Linked DNA regions of Homo sapiens: regions 2, 3 and 4 are each linked to region 1. The links are contacts of gene promoters, found by promoter capture Hi-C in blood cells and fetal thymus (Javierre and others, 2016). All regions are on one chromosome and are shown on one strand. The core of a region is centred on a gene start or on the middle of the fragment in contact, and the rest is flanking DNA. Distances in the headings are between cores, read along the strand shown. Region 1 holds the start of EPC2 (enhancer of polycomb 2). Region 2 overlaps ACVR2A (activin A receptor type 2A). Region 3 overlaps MBD5 (methyl-CpG binding domain protein 5). Region 4 overlaps MBD5 (methyl-CpG binding domain protein 5).

Region 1 (3,686 bases), core at 858-3,357:
TTACAGGCGTGACCCACCGTGCCCGGCCTAGAACAGATTTGACTCAAGTTCTAAAATAATAGGATCAAAGTAATTACACACAATACTGGTACTTTTAAGGCCATCTTTCTTTGGATCAAGACCCACAAAATAGCAAAAATATCCAAAGTTGTGCTTATTAGGGTTCAATGTAATTAACTATTGTATATAATATGATTTTATTTTAATTTTCCTTCCCATGGAAAACTGAGTCGTTAGAAACAAATTAAAAAAAAAAGTTCTCACATACAAAAAAAAAAGTTCTCACAGCTCTAAACCTTAGGGATAAATGCTGGGTTTTGATTATAAACATATTTATATATATGCACACACAAATATATATGTGTATGTGCGTGTATATATATCTATTACATATTTGTGTGTGTACACACACAGTTAAGTTCATCCCGATGCTACGGCCATATGCATTTTCTACTGAAAATGTAAGACTTTCAAGTAACTATACATCAAAGAGAAATGTGATTAAATAAGAGCAAAGTAGTATTAACAGGGTAACATAATGAGGTCAGAACTCAACCAGCCAATCGAAGGCATAAAAGCATTTCCTGCAATATTAATAGTCAAAAGAGAAAACCAATCACTGAAACCTCGAGCTTCCTTTTGACAGTCACTGAAGCAAGAGAACCAATCCACACACACCCGAGGTTGACAATAAGGCGGGACTGTAGGTTCATTGAAGAAATTCTTGAGGGTGCAGTTACTATGAACTTCGCACGCAAGTAACACCACTCGAGTCATAAACACTCTCTGTCAAGCCAGATGAAATCCAACCGTCTGCAAAATTTAACCCATCGGAGGAAAAGCAGCAATTTTCCCAAAAGGTGCTGTATTATCAAAATTACAACTGCCAATTTAGATGCACTAGGTCCTCAACTTCTAAGGACCACCTCGCAATGACAATTCTCGAGGACAACGCAACGCCGGCGGCTCGCTTCCGGGCATCCCCGGCTCCTCTCTAACGTTGCGCACGGAGCACGGCCGTCCAGGCGGAGCAGGCAGAGCCCGTCCGCCCCGCGCCCGGCTCGGGTCGGCAGAACTGGCCGGCGGGCGGCCCTCGGACGCTACGACCCGCTCGGTAGTCGTGGCCCCCGCCCTCCCCCGCCGCAGTGCTGCACCGCCTCATCCCGCTGCACCTTCGCGGGCGGGGGAGCCAGGATGATTACATTGCTGGGAGGAAGATGTTTGTTTTGAAAGCACCCTTCCACAGTCATTTCAAAGAGAACTCAATACAAAGCCAAAGTTAAAAGTGGAAAAAATAATAATCTTGCCTAGCCAAATAATACCACGCCATTAATTAGCCCCGCGCCTGAGAGAGGGAGGTGGAAAGGTAAACAGAGACCGTACGCCAAGAGCGGCCAGCGCATCCCCTGCGCCATTCCCGGCCGCCGCTTACGGCAAGGCCCCCTTACGGCAGCGTAAGCAGCGCTGCGAGCTAATCACAACACTGGGACGCAACAACATGGCGGCCGCGGGCGGGCGCTACGCCGGCCGAGAGGGTTTACGCTACTCCGCCGGCGTAGAGTCCCGTGCGTTAGAGCGGCAGCGGCGCCCTCCAGCGAGCGTAAAGCGCTCTGTGAATGGCGAGGCCCGACTGACAAAGGGGAGGGGGGAGGAGGGAAGGGGGGGTAATAAACACTCGAGTCCCTACCGATTCCTCCTCCTTCTCCATCCCGGTGGGCATCTGGGGCACGGCCCGGTTGATGGAGACGCAGTCGTTGAGATCAGGCATGTCCTTGCCGCGGTAGATAGGCAGCGGCTTGGCGGCGTCCAGCGCCCGCGCTCGGAAGGAGAGTTTACTCATTGTCTCCCCGCCTTACAGGAACAGCCCGGGCGGCGGCGGCGGGGCGGGCGGGGAGGGGGGGAGGACTCCCGCCGCCTCCTCCACCTCCTTCCTCAGTGCAGCGCGGCCGGCCCGCTCCTCCTCCTCCTCACTGCCCCCGGCCACAGCATGGGCGCCCACCCCGCCCGAAAACAGCCCCCCGCGCCCGCGGCCGCCTCCACACACTAGATCCGCCGCTCGCCCGCCCGATCCGCTCCCTGCGCCATGGCCAACATGGCGGACATTACCACAGCGGCGGCGAGCGATCCCGGCAGCCCGCGCGAGAGCGCGCCCCCGTCGCGGGAACGCGCCTCGCCCTCTCCCTCCCTCCCTCCTTCCTCTCCCTTCCCCTCCCTCGCCTGCCCACCCACTCTCTCCGCGGCGCTGCCGGCCCGCGGGAGCGTGCTCGGTCTCGGTCCGCTCCGGGGAGAGGGGGCGGGGGCGGCGCCCCTCCGCTCGCTGGCCGGTGCTTTCGCTGTGTGGCAGGTGCCAGGTGCGCAAGTTCGCCCGCGCCCGGGAGCGTGCGCCTCTCCCGCCGCCGCCCGGTCACCCCTCTCGCTGGGTGTCCCGGAGGAAGGCGCCGGGCAAAGACGGCTGCGCCGAGCAGCGCGTGTGTGCAGAAGTCCGGGAGCGGGAAGGGAAAATGTCGACCCGGACCCCACCAGCCATCACCCAAGCCTGTACTTGGACAGCGCTATCCCCAAGGCGCCCTGTGCGCAAGCTAATTCGCATCCTCCGAGGCGCACATCCCCGAGAGGTGCAAGAGGTCTCTCCCATCAGTCCCATCAGTCCGTTCGGAGGACTGGACCGCGCTGCTGGTGCCAGCCCTCTTCTACGCCCTCCCCTCCGTACCTGTCCGAAAGAGCTCTCCAAGGTGCAGCAGCGCGTTCATCCTCGCTTTGCAGTGAGGGTTCATGGTTTGAGGCTGCCAGATGCAACAAGTGAACTTAGGTTCCCTGTCACCCAAACTTCGGTACAGCTGTTTAGTGGATGGTAGGTATTTTTCTGAGTTCAAAAATAGTAGCTTTCCTAAAAGTTCAGCTTCTAAAAATTTAGCCAAGGCAGCACACATTTGCGAAGTAGCAGATGTGTGTCAAATGTGGGGTGCTGTGGAAGACTCGAAGAAATCTGAGAAAAGGTTCCTGCCTCAGAGAGCTTTCACCTTAATGGGATGCCAGGATGGCTGGAAAGATGAGTAACAGAGACGTAAATAGTTGAAGAAAATGACAGCTGGAAAGATAAGTGACAACCGAAAAAAAAGTGTAAATATTTTAAGAAAACAATACAAGAGATGACACAGGCAGTAAGTAGCACATGATTAATTACCAAACGAGATCTAGGCAATAATTGTGAGAGTTCAGAGAAAGGAAAGGAGGCATGACTGCAGCCTAAACTGGTTAGAGAAAGTTCTCAAGAGGAGGGAAAATCAAGGTGACTCAAATAAGTACTAGCTATTGTTGACATCAACCTGGTTTAGCCAAGAGGCTCTTGGTTAGTCTTTAAGCATTACACATTTCTCACAAAACCGTACAAAGAGAGTTTTTAACACATTTTACCATTTTCTAATAATCGATCATACTCTAACTCAGAGAAAGTCAGATGATTTCCTAAAGACCAACAGTGAAAAAATTGATTCCTACTGTCATTTCTATGTGACAATAAAACTATATCTCTTCCTCTATTACGTCCTTCTTCCCCTCCTCCACTTCCTCCCCTCCCCCTTTTTCCTCCTGTTCCTCTTCCCCTTTTCTCTCTGCAGTCTCCTCCTTTGAAGGCAGAATGGTGGATATAGTCTTCATGGTAGTGTCCAAATAGTCTAACCAGTCTG
Region 2 (3,686 bases), core at 300-2,799, 790 kb after region 1:
TTTTAAGCAATGACAAGTAGGAAAAAAAATAAGATGACTAAAATAAGATACAAAAGGAAGACTGATAAGTGTAGGCAAGCTTTACAATACAATCAGAGAATGTTCAAAGCTGGAAGGGATCTAGGAGAGTCTCTCTAGCTTACACTGATGCAACAGGTTCCTAATGGTCTCACCTCTTCCCTCCTACACTCTTCCAGTATGTTTTTCAGATAGCTGCCAAAGTGATCTCAACACATAACCCAGATCTGCTCTTCCTTAAAACTCTTTGCTTCACACTGCCATTTGCATTTTATTCTAACTCCTTCCCCTGTTACATCAAAGACCTGCATGATCCTGTCCCTATCTCTCCAGTCCCATCACTGCATTCATTGCTTCAGGCAGCTAGTTAAATATTCACTGAGCTTCGCCTCTGTGCCAGAAACTGTGCCATGCATTGGAAGTATTAAGAAAAAGTCACACCCTTCCCCACCCCAGTAGAGCTTACATTCTAATATTAGAAAGGACAAATAAGAAATAGGCCAGGCGCGGTGGCTCACACCTGTAATCCCAGCACTTTGGGAGGCCAAGGAGGGCAGATCACTTGAGACAGGAGTTCGAGACCAGCCTGCCCAACATGGTTAAACCCCCTCTCTACCAAAAATACAAAAATTAGCCAGGCATGGTGGCGCATGCCTGTAGTCCCAGTTACTCAGGAGGCTGAGGCAGGAGAATCACTTGAACTGGAAGGCTGGGGTTGTGGTAAGCCAAGATTGCACCACTGCACTCCAGCCTGGCCAACAGAGCGAGACTCAGTCTCAAAAAAAAAAGAAATAGGCAGATAAAGTAAACAGATGTGATATGTGATAAGGCAAATAAAGAGTAATCCTCTCGGCACCCTGTTAGTTTCTGTCCGAGCACGTATGACAATCTGTAATTATGTTGTTCATTTGACTACTTACTTTATGACTATAAGCTTCAGAAAGGCATAATCATATCTGTCTTCATGTTTAATAATGTATCCCAAGCACTTACCATAGTGTCTAGCATGTAGTTCAATATTGATTTGTTAAGTGAATGAATACCTATTTCACCCTCTTTAATTTAGGGTGAGTAAAGTGAAATCTTAATGGCTGTCAAAGGTCAAAGAAGAGTCAGTAGGAAAGTAGGAATTTGAATGACAGACTCTTAAGTTTTAGTCCAAAATATTATACCACATTCAAAATATTGATCTCAAAGTACAGTCATTGAATAGCTTTGTGTTTTCAAAGCTTAAAGTAGCTGGTACCTAAAAAACAGACTTGAGAATCTTTCAAAACTTTACTTCTACTAAAAAGTTTTAAAACACTTAAAAAGTTTAAGAGAAGTTGTCCAAGAAAAAAAGATATTTTAAATTCCCACTAATAAATAGAGACGATTTAGTCCATTGTTTCTTTTTAATGCATGCTAAAACAGTGAGACCTTAAAGAACTCTTTGTAAGGAACCACGATATCTGAATATTCTAGATATTTATTGGCAGCTATCTGGCTCTCTATAATGATATGTTCTTTGGCTGTATCATTTAGTCAGAGTATTATTTCACATTAACTGACTGATAAGTAACCTGCAAATGTAAATATCCCCCAAGAACCAAATCTATATTTTTTAATGTTTTACATACCATATCCTTTTAAATGGGACTTAAAGATAGATTAAAAACTAATATGTAAGATCTACTCTGGACCAGCTACCATGTTATGTGGAGTTATCAATTCATTTAATACATCTTGGTTTACAAATTTTAAAAGTTAATCTCAGAGTTTTAGAAATGTGCCAAGATCTCATAACTTGTCCATGCCCCTTCCTCTTGAAATAATGCCTTGGAGCAAGCTTGATATATCACATATAGTTATGAAGATGGGAAGAACAATAAACTTTTCCTTTAAAATAAAAATTTTAAAGTTAATAATCATAACTACGAAAACTCCTCCCTCTAAGCTTTATAAATAGGCTTACTTTTATTACAATATGTAAAGACTTGATTCATTTTTAAAATCTTTTGAAAGGCAACCCCTCCCCACATGTGTAGCCAGTCCTTCTAATGTAGTAACTCTCTTCTTGCTTTACATTTATTTTCTTTAGCAATATTAGAGAATAAAGTAATTCCCAGTGTGACTACAGCCAACCAAAGAAAAAACTAGTCCAAAAGAATGGTCACTGAAAAGTTTAGGTTTCAAGCGTGAATACCATATACCAAATTCAGAAAAGCATCTAAATCTACTTCCTTAGAACAGTGTATTTTACTGTAGGGTCTCATACAGATTTCAAAGAATATAATCTGGATGACCAGTATGAGTAATTACTGAAATTTGACCATCATTTAAACATAAACAACATATTGAGCCACTAATGTTTAGAATTCTTTAACTAGACTTCACAATGAAGACATATCCATCATACAGTGTCTGCCTCTTTAAGAGAATATTACGTTATCATGTTTTATTATGTACTCTTATTTTTCCAAATACATGTCTTTATTTCTATTCATGCTTATCATCTAAAACTATATCTATCTGTAAACTTTTTTAGTTATGAAGGCACTTTCAATTTTCCTCTGGCTCATTACTTCCTTACCAATTTTATTTAGTAGTGCTACCATTCTACCTTAGTCTTCGAGTTGCTTTTCAGTCCTATATCCACATATGGGGTATTTGGGACATACATCAGGATATGTATCATCCACTCTTACCTCCTCAGTTTTAATTACTTTTCATTTGAATTTAAGGGTTAACCCCCTGAGATTGTCCTACTTCTTCAAGCAATTGTGAACTCTCTTCATCACACAAATCTCTTCCTCAGATTTAGTCAAAATTTCTCCATCCCACCTTGCCTTCATCCATGGTCAAGTTTACTCTCAAATGGCTATTGTGTTCCTGATGCTATTTTGTGTCTTTTCCTTCATATTAACATCCTTCCTAATCTCCGTCTAAGACTTTTTTTCCAGTACTAAGTCCAGCAAGTCTTTCCTAAATTAAAAAATCCCAACTCCCCAAAATTACAATCTAATGTTGTTTCAGCGCCTTCGTGTGTGCTTAATTTATTCGACTAGTCCAAAAGAGAGAAGACCTTAATCAGGGAAGAGCCATGTTCTCCCTTGAGACCAGTTTTCCCTATATTCTATACCTAGGCACACAGTCTCTATTGTAGATTAATTAATGACCATATTTTTCAGTGCATATATTTTTCATTGCACACATTTACATATGAAGCTTCCTTTTCCACTAAGAGAGTACTGAATACAGGAAATAAGGATTGTTGAACTAGGTCACTGGTTTTAGGGATTTACAATCCATTAGTTGGTCAATGAATCAATTAATGGGTCACGATCAATGTTTTTTAAATGAAATGTAATATAAAAATACATAAGTGTCCTGCACATAGTTAAGAGTACACAGTTCATGAAACTTTCATTTCTGATGCACACAGACATATATACATACACCCCTACTACTACATGGGAACTAAGTCATAATGCAATGTGTAATTCCTATTGTGTATTACAGTCAAAAAAGTATGAAAGCCATGGAACATGAGGATACCTAAGATCCCCTCTAAATCTATATAATTCAAATTCTAATTTTAATTATTTAAAAAAATTTAAATTTGAACATAACTTAAAGATATCAAAACAATGAGCAAAATCATCTTTTCTTAATAAAATGTCACCACT
Region 3 (3,686 bases), core at 359-2,858, 600 kb after region 1:
ACTAGCTAGAAATACAGCTGGAGTGCAAAACCACAGCATAACAATTATTCTATGGCTAGCTCCCACTGACAGATTTCCATAAATTTCTAGTGCTATCCAAATTCCTCCCTTGGTTCAAAGCAAAGTGAAGAATGGATGGTGCACGAAATCCACTTGCCACAAGATTTCTAGCTTCTAAAGAGCTAAGGTGATGTCCAGTTTCTGGGTACAATCACTGGGCAGCTGAGAACCAGTGAATACACAGGTTGATGCCACTGTCTAGTCAAGCTACAGTCCAGTCAATCCATCACATGTTACCAGAAACTCCCAGCAACCACAGGAAAATGCTTCTTTTTTACCATTTCCCACAATGTGGTCAATATGACTCTTGCTGGCACCACTTCTCAGACACTAACATCACTAATGAAATTCTATTTCTTTGCTCCTCCTGCCTCACCCTTTGAGCACTGCAGTACTTTCTGGGAGTACACAAGAATTCATGTAAGAAGAGTGGACTAGACTATTCCAACATCCCAGGATGAGACAGGGCAATTTTTCACAGAGAGGCTTATCTCATACCCACCCTAGGAAATTTATTCACTTCTTTTCTCAAGGGAGCAAAGTAGTAACTTTAGGCCTTCTGGGGGACTTTTCAACCACAGAGTTTCCCCTGAGTACATTCAGTCCTCTGTTTTCTACTCCATTCTTTTCTCTTTTAGTGGTTTTCTTATCATTTGTCTTTTACTGAACAAGTCATGTTACCTTGACCCTCCTTTTGAATATGTTCTTCCTCATTCCTGGAAAGCCTTACTCTTCTCTACTCTCCAACTCCAAAACAGCAAACTGCTCTTCATTCTTCAGGTCAGTGCTCCCTGAAGAAGACTTTGCTAATGTCCAAAAATAGATTTGGCGGCTTCTTTTCTCAGTTCTTATTTTCTCACAAAACTCTCCACTAAAGCATTTGCCAGGTTGTATTATTATTGTTGATTTTCAACATAGGTATGTGCATATCCTCACTAAACTATAAATTCTTCAAAGGCAGATGTTGTGTTTACTCATCTTCATAATTCCAGCACCTAATAAGTAGTAAGCATTTAAAAAACAATTTCTTAAATAAATGGGTGGGAAACCAAAAAAGGCCTATCAGGAGCCTTAATATATGTTAACATTTCTCGAGTCCTACTGAGACGGACCAGGCATTGTGTCAACAACTTTGTATGCATTATCCCTCTGAATCTTCCAAAAACCATGAGAAGGAGGTAGTTAGTAACCTTTTTTTGAACAGGTAAAATGATGCTTTACAGAGACAGAATGTTTCAGGATCTGAACTTAAATTAATCATCACCAAAGTTTATGCCCCTATCCACCTTAGACTTCAAAGGGAAAGAACAATGAATAAATTGATATAAGAGGATTGTTTCAAGACAGCATATTTAAGTTGGGAATTATCTACAGTATCTTACTAGAGGCTTCTTTGTGAGGCTTTCTAAAATAAACAACTCTATGTATGAGATCTCACAAACAATGGTTTCTCTAGTTTTGCTGCTTTTGTAACTCGTGTCTTTGCACATGCTGTTCTCTTAGTCTAGGAAGCCCTTACCATCTTATGCAATTGTAGAATTCCAACTCATAACTTAAAATTTAGCTAAGGTATCACTTTGGACTTAGGGCCATTCTGCCAAAGGAGGTATTCTCATCCTAAGTGGTTGCTTGCTGTTCTTTACAATTACTTCATTAAATGAATACTCTAGATGACCTTATACATTTATTTACATGTCTTTCTCCCCTAGTCACTCTAAATTTCTTCAAAGGCAGAGTTCCTTTCTTATTCATCTTTGTACCCCTAGTGCCTGTGTGGCACAAACACAAACATTTATCAAGGCACTTGGTAAAAATATTGGTTAACAATTTCTACATCTCCCAATTTGGCCTTCTCGTATATTCAGGTATTATCTGCTTAATTCTGGCCAAGCAGGATGTAAAAAACATCTAGAATTGCCATTGCCCATGATCCTTTTTAAAACTTCCTCTGTCTCCACGCAAAATGTACTCCATTTCTTTTGGTTGCAGAGCCCTTACTTCAATTCAGGTTTGTATGACCCTTAGTAAAGGTCATGGTCTTAGTTATGGCTTGAGCTAGATTTGAAGATGCAAAAGAAAACAAAGCAAGAACTTGATAATCTTGGTGACTGACACTAGAAGTAAAAAAACAACCATCTTATATGATCATAAAAGTTAAATGAGTGCATCATTAACTAAGAAGGGGAAAATTGAGGATGGCCAGGATGATTTGATAAGAAGTGACACCTGATTTGGGATTTGCAGTAAAACTATGTTGGGGGAGACAGTGGATAAGGCAAGAGGCACTGTACAAAAGACAGCATGTGAATAAAGCCAAGGAGACCTGAAGGAGCACAACATAATCTTGAAGAGGAAGTGGGTTGGTTAGCTGCGATGAAAGACATCATAAGGGGAAAAGTAATGGGAGATGAAGCTGGAGGTCTAAGTTGACATAAGATATAAAGATGAAGGGCTTATACTTCAGATTGAAAATAGGATTTTATATAAACCAATAAAAAGGAACAATCCACAAGGTTTTTAATTAGGGTAGTGACATAACCAGGTTTATGTTTGGTAACAACTCAGCAAAAGACAGAATATGGCCCAGAGTACAGAAAAGTCAGAGGCAGATTAATTAGCTAAGGAGATTACTTACTACCATTCTCTAGTCAAGGAATGAACTAAACTAGCAGCAATGTGCATAACACAAAGATAGAACTGAGCGGACTTAGGAATTAGGAAGGAAAACAATTCTATACGATTTGGTGATAGGCTGACTATGGAGGTAAAGAAGGGGTGGAAGAGGACTATGATATTTCTAACTTGGGGAATTGGGGTAGACAGGGACAGCACCATCCAAGAAAGTAAATACAAGCAAAAGAGGTTTGTGGGAGATGTTAATGAGTAATTACATAAATACTCAGTTTGAAAGACCTCAGGGACTTATACTGCTAACCACTCAGTCTACAACTTAATCATATGCTGAATTATTTTGATGTGTTTAAGTAGATTTCTCAACCAATCACAAAACTTCGAAAACCTTGTATTTTATTTCTTTCATAACATCACTAGTGTATAAAAAGCCTTCATTAAGGTTGGGTGCAGTGGCTCATGCCTGTAATCCCAGCACTTTGGGAGGCCAAGGTGGGCGGATCACAAGGTCAAGAGATCAAAACCGTCCTGGCCAACATGGTGAAACCCCGTCTCTACTAAAAATACAAAAATTAGCTGGGTGTGATGGCACACGCCTGTAGTCCCAGCTACTCGAGGGGCTGAGGCAGGAGGATCACTTGAACCTGGGAGGCGGAGGTTGTGGTGAGCCGAGATTGCACCACTGCACTCCAGCCTGGCAACACCGCGAGACTCTGTCTCAAAAAAAAAAAAAAAAAAAAAAAAAAAAGGCACTTCATTAAGACAATACTAACAACAAGCCCTTGGTGAACTGTTTGACTAGTGTGAACCATGATTGTGTACATAAATTAGGAAACAATTTTATTATCCATTCTAGGATTAAGAGGGGAAGTTTTCAAAATTTCTAGATTGCTATATACAAATTCTAACATACTTAATAGCATAAAGACAATGGAGAAAGAAGAGAAATGACATTTCCTCTTTACATTTACTAGTAGGTAACAGTCTATCTGCCT
Region 4 (3,686 bases), core at 758-3,257, 580 kb after region 1:
ATTAACTACACATCAACTAAATGCTGAGTTCATCTTTTTAGCTTTGTTTTGTATATATTCCAGGCAATGAACATAAATAATCTTCCTATCTTTAAGAAAGTTCACATAAGGCTCAGAGTTTAAGTGTTTCCTACTGAAAAGTCTATAATTCACAGAATATCAAACTTCAGCATTTTATTTTGTGATGTTCCTATTCCCTACTTTCCATGTCATCTATGGTTTACCTGATAGGCAGTCATTAACTTCAACACATTCAACTTTGAAGCAACTCATATGATCTTTCATTAAACTATGATATCCTATATTAATTTCCTTTTCTGAGTTTGATTTTTTTGACATATTTTGTTGAATGATGATTTCAAATGCTCATAATACTGCCTCTGAGCTGTTACTGTTAAAGGAAATAGTCTGGTTTCCGCCACACAACAGAGCATGCTCACAAGCTAGGAGAACACAGAAGCATCTCACAAACTCATGGGTTTGCTCTCTTAACTGAACCTATGGTTCACACAGGTCTACTGGTCCAGCCTCCTCCAATCTTAAAGCTGTTCTCACAAAACGTTCCTCCCCCTCCTACCTTAACAACGCTGGAAAATACCAGGCTATTTGAAGACAGGAGAGGCTCATCACAAAGACTGAAAAAAGATCTGCTAGGTCCCTCTTGATACATGGTCCAGAGGAAAGCAGAAATGGTCTGCCTTTCCCTGAGTACTACCCAAGCAGGTTGGGCTTACATATTTAAGACTGTGGATAAAGTCGGCAGCTATCAAACCCCTAATCTTCCTTTTAGAAAGTGGTAATTCTAAATTTATTATCTCCGGATGCTGGCTGTGCAACTCCATCTCTATCAGACTCCAAAGCAGGGAAGAATCTCCCCTGACTACTGGTGTATGGGGCCTGAAAGAAGTAGGACACAAGCAGGAACCATAATTTTAGGAAGTGACTGTAATACATAATTTCAGCTCTCAGGTATGTTATCAGAAATACATTAATATAAAAGTAGTGGGCTATATATAAGAAAGAACGGTCAAGATTGTAATTATTCTGTTTTTCATACATCAATTACTAAAGAAATAAAAGAAGGAAAGAAGAAAGGTAAGGAAGAAAGTAAGAAACAATGAAGGGGAAGAAAATGAGCCAATATAAAGCCTCCAATTATTTTTCAGGAAGTTATCTTAAAGTTATTGCTCCTTTAATTTGTTTGTGTCTTGAGTAAGAGAAGATTGATTTCAGGTGTAAGGACTGATGGGCCCTAGGCAAAATAATTAATAGCTGGGAATAGGCAGGGTTGGGGCTGGGAGAATCGGTTTGCCTCAAAGAAAGGTATCTAGCAGCCAAATTAGAGTATTCAAGGGGTTATGAAGAAGAATATAGCTTTGATCCAGGCTACTACCAGTTTCTAGATAATCTCATCTGGTAGAAGGCACACTATGGAAAGAATCTTTGTGTAGTGGCGGTACTTAAAGACAGCTGGTGGGGGCCGGGCGCGGTGGCTCACGCCTGTGGTCCCAGCACTTTGGGAGGCCGAGGCGAGGGGATCACGAGGTCAGGAGATCGAGACCATCCTGGCTAACACGGAGAAACCCCGTCTCTACTAAAAATACAAAAAATTAGCCGGGCGTGGTGGCGGGCACCTGTGGTCCCAGCTACTAGGCGGGAGAATGGCGTGAACCCGGGAGGCGGAGCTTGCAGTGAGCTGAGATCGCGCCACTGCACTCCAGCCTGGGCGACAGAGCGAGGCTCTGTCTCAAAAAAAAAAAAAAAGAAAAAAGACAGCTGGTGGGAATAGTATGTTTCCTTTAGATTCACCCTATATATGAAAGAGCAAGAGCATAAAGACTCCCTGCTTGGGTGTAAGAAGCTATAGTCCCACCAGAACCCAGGAGAAACAAGTTTGCTAGTATTAGACATATTATCAATCTTCAATCTGAGCAAACAGGGTGGCAATGGTAGGAGAAAACTAGAGCTTGTTGGCACTTATGGACTCAATATAGGCACGTGATTACTGGACTAAAAAGACAGATTAATCCCCATCCAAGAATAGGATTATTAAATACCTTGGCTCAGGAACAGGTTGGGCAGAGTCCACAGGTCAAAGGGCTTAGATATTGGAAAATAAGAAAACAGCAATATTATAACTGGTATATTAACAGGCTTTTCAGGACGTGTAAATTGTACAGTGGTGGGAAAGGCCACCAATAGAGAGGCCATTAAGATCTCCACTTAAAAAAATAAATAAGTGAGCCCTTGTTCACATAGGCAGTGTCATCCAAAATATGTGTAGCACAGGAGTCAGCAAACTAAGACCTGCTGCCTGTTTTTGTATTAAAAAAAAAAAAGTTTTCTTGGAAAATAGCAATGCTCATTCATTTATGTATTGTCAATGGCTGCTTTTGCACTAAAAAAGCAGAGTTGAGCCAGGTTCCTAAGGCCTAAATATTTACTATCTGGCCTTTTACAGAAAAAGTGTGCTGACACTTGCATTAGAGTAACACAATCTGGAAAGAACCCTAACGATCCCCAACTTCTATCCCTGCCATTTATTTTATTTCAATTTCTTGCATCAATTAAAATTTGGATGTTTTTCAAAAGCAAATTATACTAAAATGAAGACAATAAATGAGTAAAGATCCTGAAATCACAGGAAAGACAAATTCAAAACTAATGACTTAAATTGTGATGAAGCTGCATTGGTACTCAACCCACCCACAACTCCTAAAGGAAATTATAAAAGTAACATGTACCTCAACTTTATTGAAAAACATTTGTAGTTTTTCTTTATTAATTAGTACGCAAGAGGAGATATCATTATTAGCAATGTTTTTATTTGAATACTAAAACATAAAGTGGTTAAGTGAACTGTTTAACAAACTGGGTCATAGATCTCAAGGAATCCGCAAATATGTGCTGAGAAATTTTGACATTCTCCAAGATAATTTGTAATTATTTTTCGTCTTGGTTGTACTTTATTGTGTTAATGAGGATGGTGGTTATAGCTATGTAAGAAATATAAGTGACTGCATTTATATTTGGTTAATACCACTATATGCATTTAAGAAACTTTCTAGAAAAAGAGTGTGATTTTTTTCTTACTTTTAGAGTTGTAAATACAACAGTAAAACCTGAGAAATCCATAAAACAGTATGTTGGCAAAGAAAAGAGAAATAACATCCAAAGAATCATACCACCATGGTTAATGAAACTCAGGAGTGATTTTATGATTCAAATACTATTAATTATTAAAACTTCCTAAACCAAAGTTCAAACAAGATATTTAATCACCTGTAACAGTAATCACACATATGCCAAAAAAAATTCAGAAAACATTGTTTACTTGAAGTTAAAACAAAATGACTTTAGCAAATTTTTTACATTACACTGAGCTTGTAGAATATAAACAGTTAAGTGTTTATCATGCTTAAGTTGTCAAATACATAAAATTACACACATTTTAAAAGCAGGTTATGCAACTTCATTTATACTATTATTATACATTATTATACTATTACAAACTTTATACATTTATTAATTTACATTTTGAGTAAAGACTATAACTGTTTTGAAAGTAGAAACCTTGTAGTTTTTTACTTTTTACAAATTAAGATTCTAGGGATTACTGTCAAACTTTAGTATGTTGCAGCTTTCCTCTGACAGAAAAAAAAAGCTAAAATGATACATGTATATAC

Evidence for each region. The method cuts DNA at HindIII sites, captures the fragments that hold promoters and counts their contacts. A CHiCAGO score of 5 or more calls a contact.
Region 2: a fragment that was not itself captured here is called in contact with the fragment with the promoter of EPC2 in region 1 in 1 of 17 cell types (total B cells); the score reaches 5.7 in total B cells.
Region 3: a contact is called between a fragment that was not itself captured here and the fragment with the promoter of EPC2 in region 1, in 3 of 17 cell types (naive CD8 T cells, naive B cells and total B cells). The highest score is 6.0, in naive CD8 T cells.
Region 4: a fragment that was not itself captured here is called in contact with the fragment with the promoter of EPC2 in region 1 in 1 of 17 cell types (naive CD8 T cells); the score reaches 5.4 in naive CD8 T cells.

The regions. Positions count from the first base shown.
Region 1 is chr2:148,643,172-148,646,857 of GRCh38, reverse strand. It overlaps EPC2 (enhancer of polycomb 2), which reads right to left and starts at 2,107. Exons shown (of 14, transcript NM_015630.4): 1 at 1,688-2,107. The coding sequence starts at 1,840. RefSeq lists enhancers at 784-933, 1,530-2,034 and silencers at 1,024-1,113, 1,874-2,453. The HindIII fragment of the contact is 14,369 bases long and covers 1-3,686 here.
Region 2 is chr2:147,852,010-147,855,695 of GRCh38, reverse strand. All of the region lies in intron 1 of ACVR2A (activin A receptor type 2A), which reads right to left. Among named protein-coding and RNA genes, the nearest start is that of ACVR2A, 8.8 kb to the right of the region's middle. The HindIII fragment of the contact is 599 bases long and covers 1,250-1,848 here.
Region 3 is chr2:148,045,728-148,049,413 of GRCh38, reverse strand. All of the region lies in intron 1 of MBD5 (methyl-CpG binding domain protein 5), which reads right to left. All of the region lies in intron 1 of LOC105373673 (a long non-coding RNA gene), which reads left to right. Among named protein-coding and RNA genes, the nearest start is that of MBD5, 26 kb to the right of the region's middle. RefSeq lists an enhancer at 857-946. The HindIII fragment of the contact is 7,418 bases long and covers 1-3,686 here.
Region 4 is chr2:148,062,207-148,065,892 of GRCh38, reverse strand. The region is part of intron 1 of MBD5 (methyl-CpG binding domain protein 5); the gene reads right to left. The region is part of intron 1 of LOC105373673 (a long non-coding RNA gene); the gene reads left to right. Among named protein-coding and RNA genes, the nearest start is that of MBD5, 43 kb to the right of the region's middle. The HindIII fragment of the contact is 4,081 bases long and covers 1-3,686 here.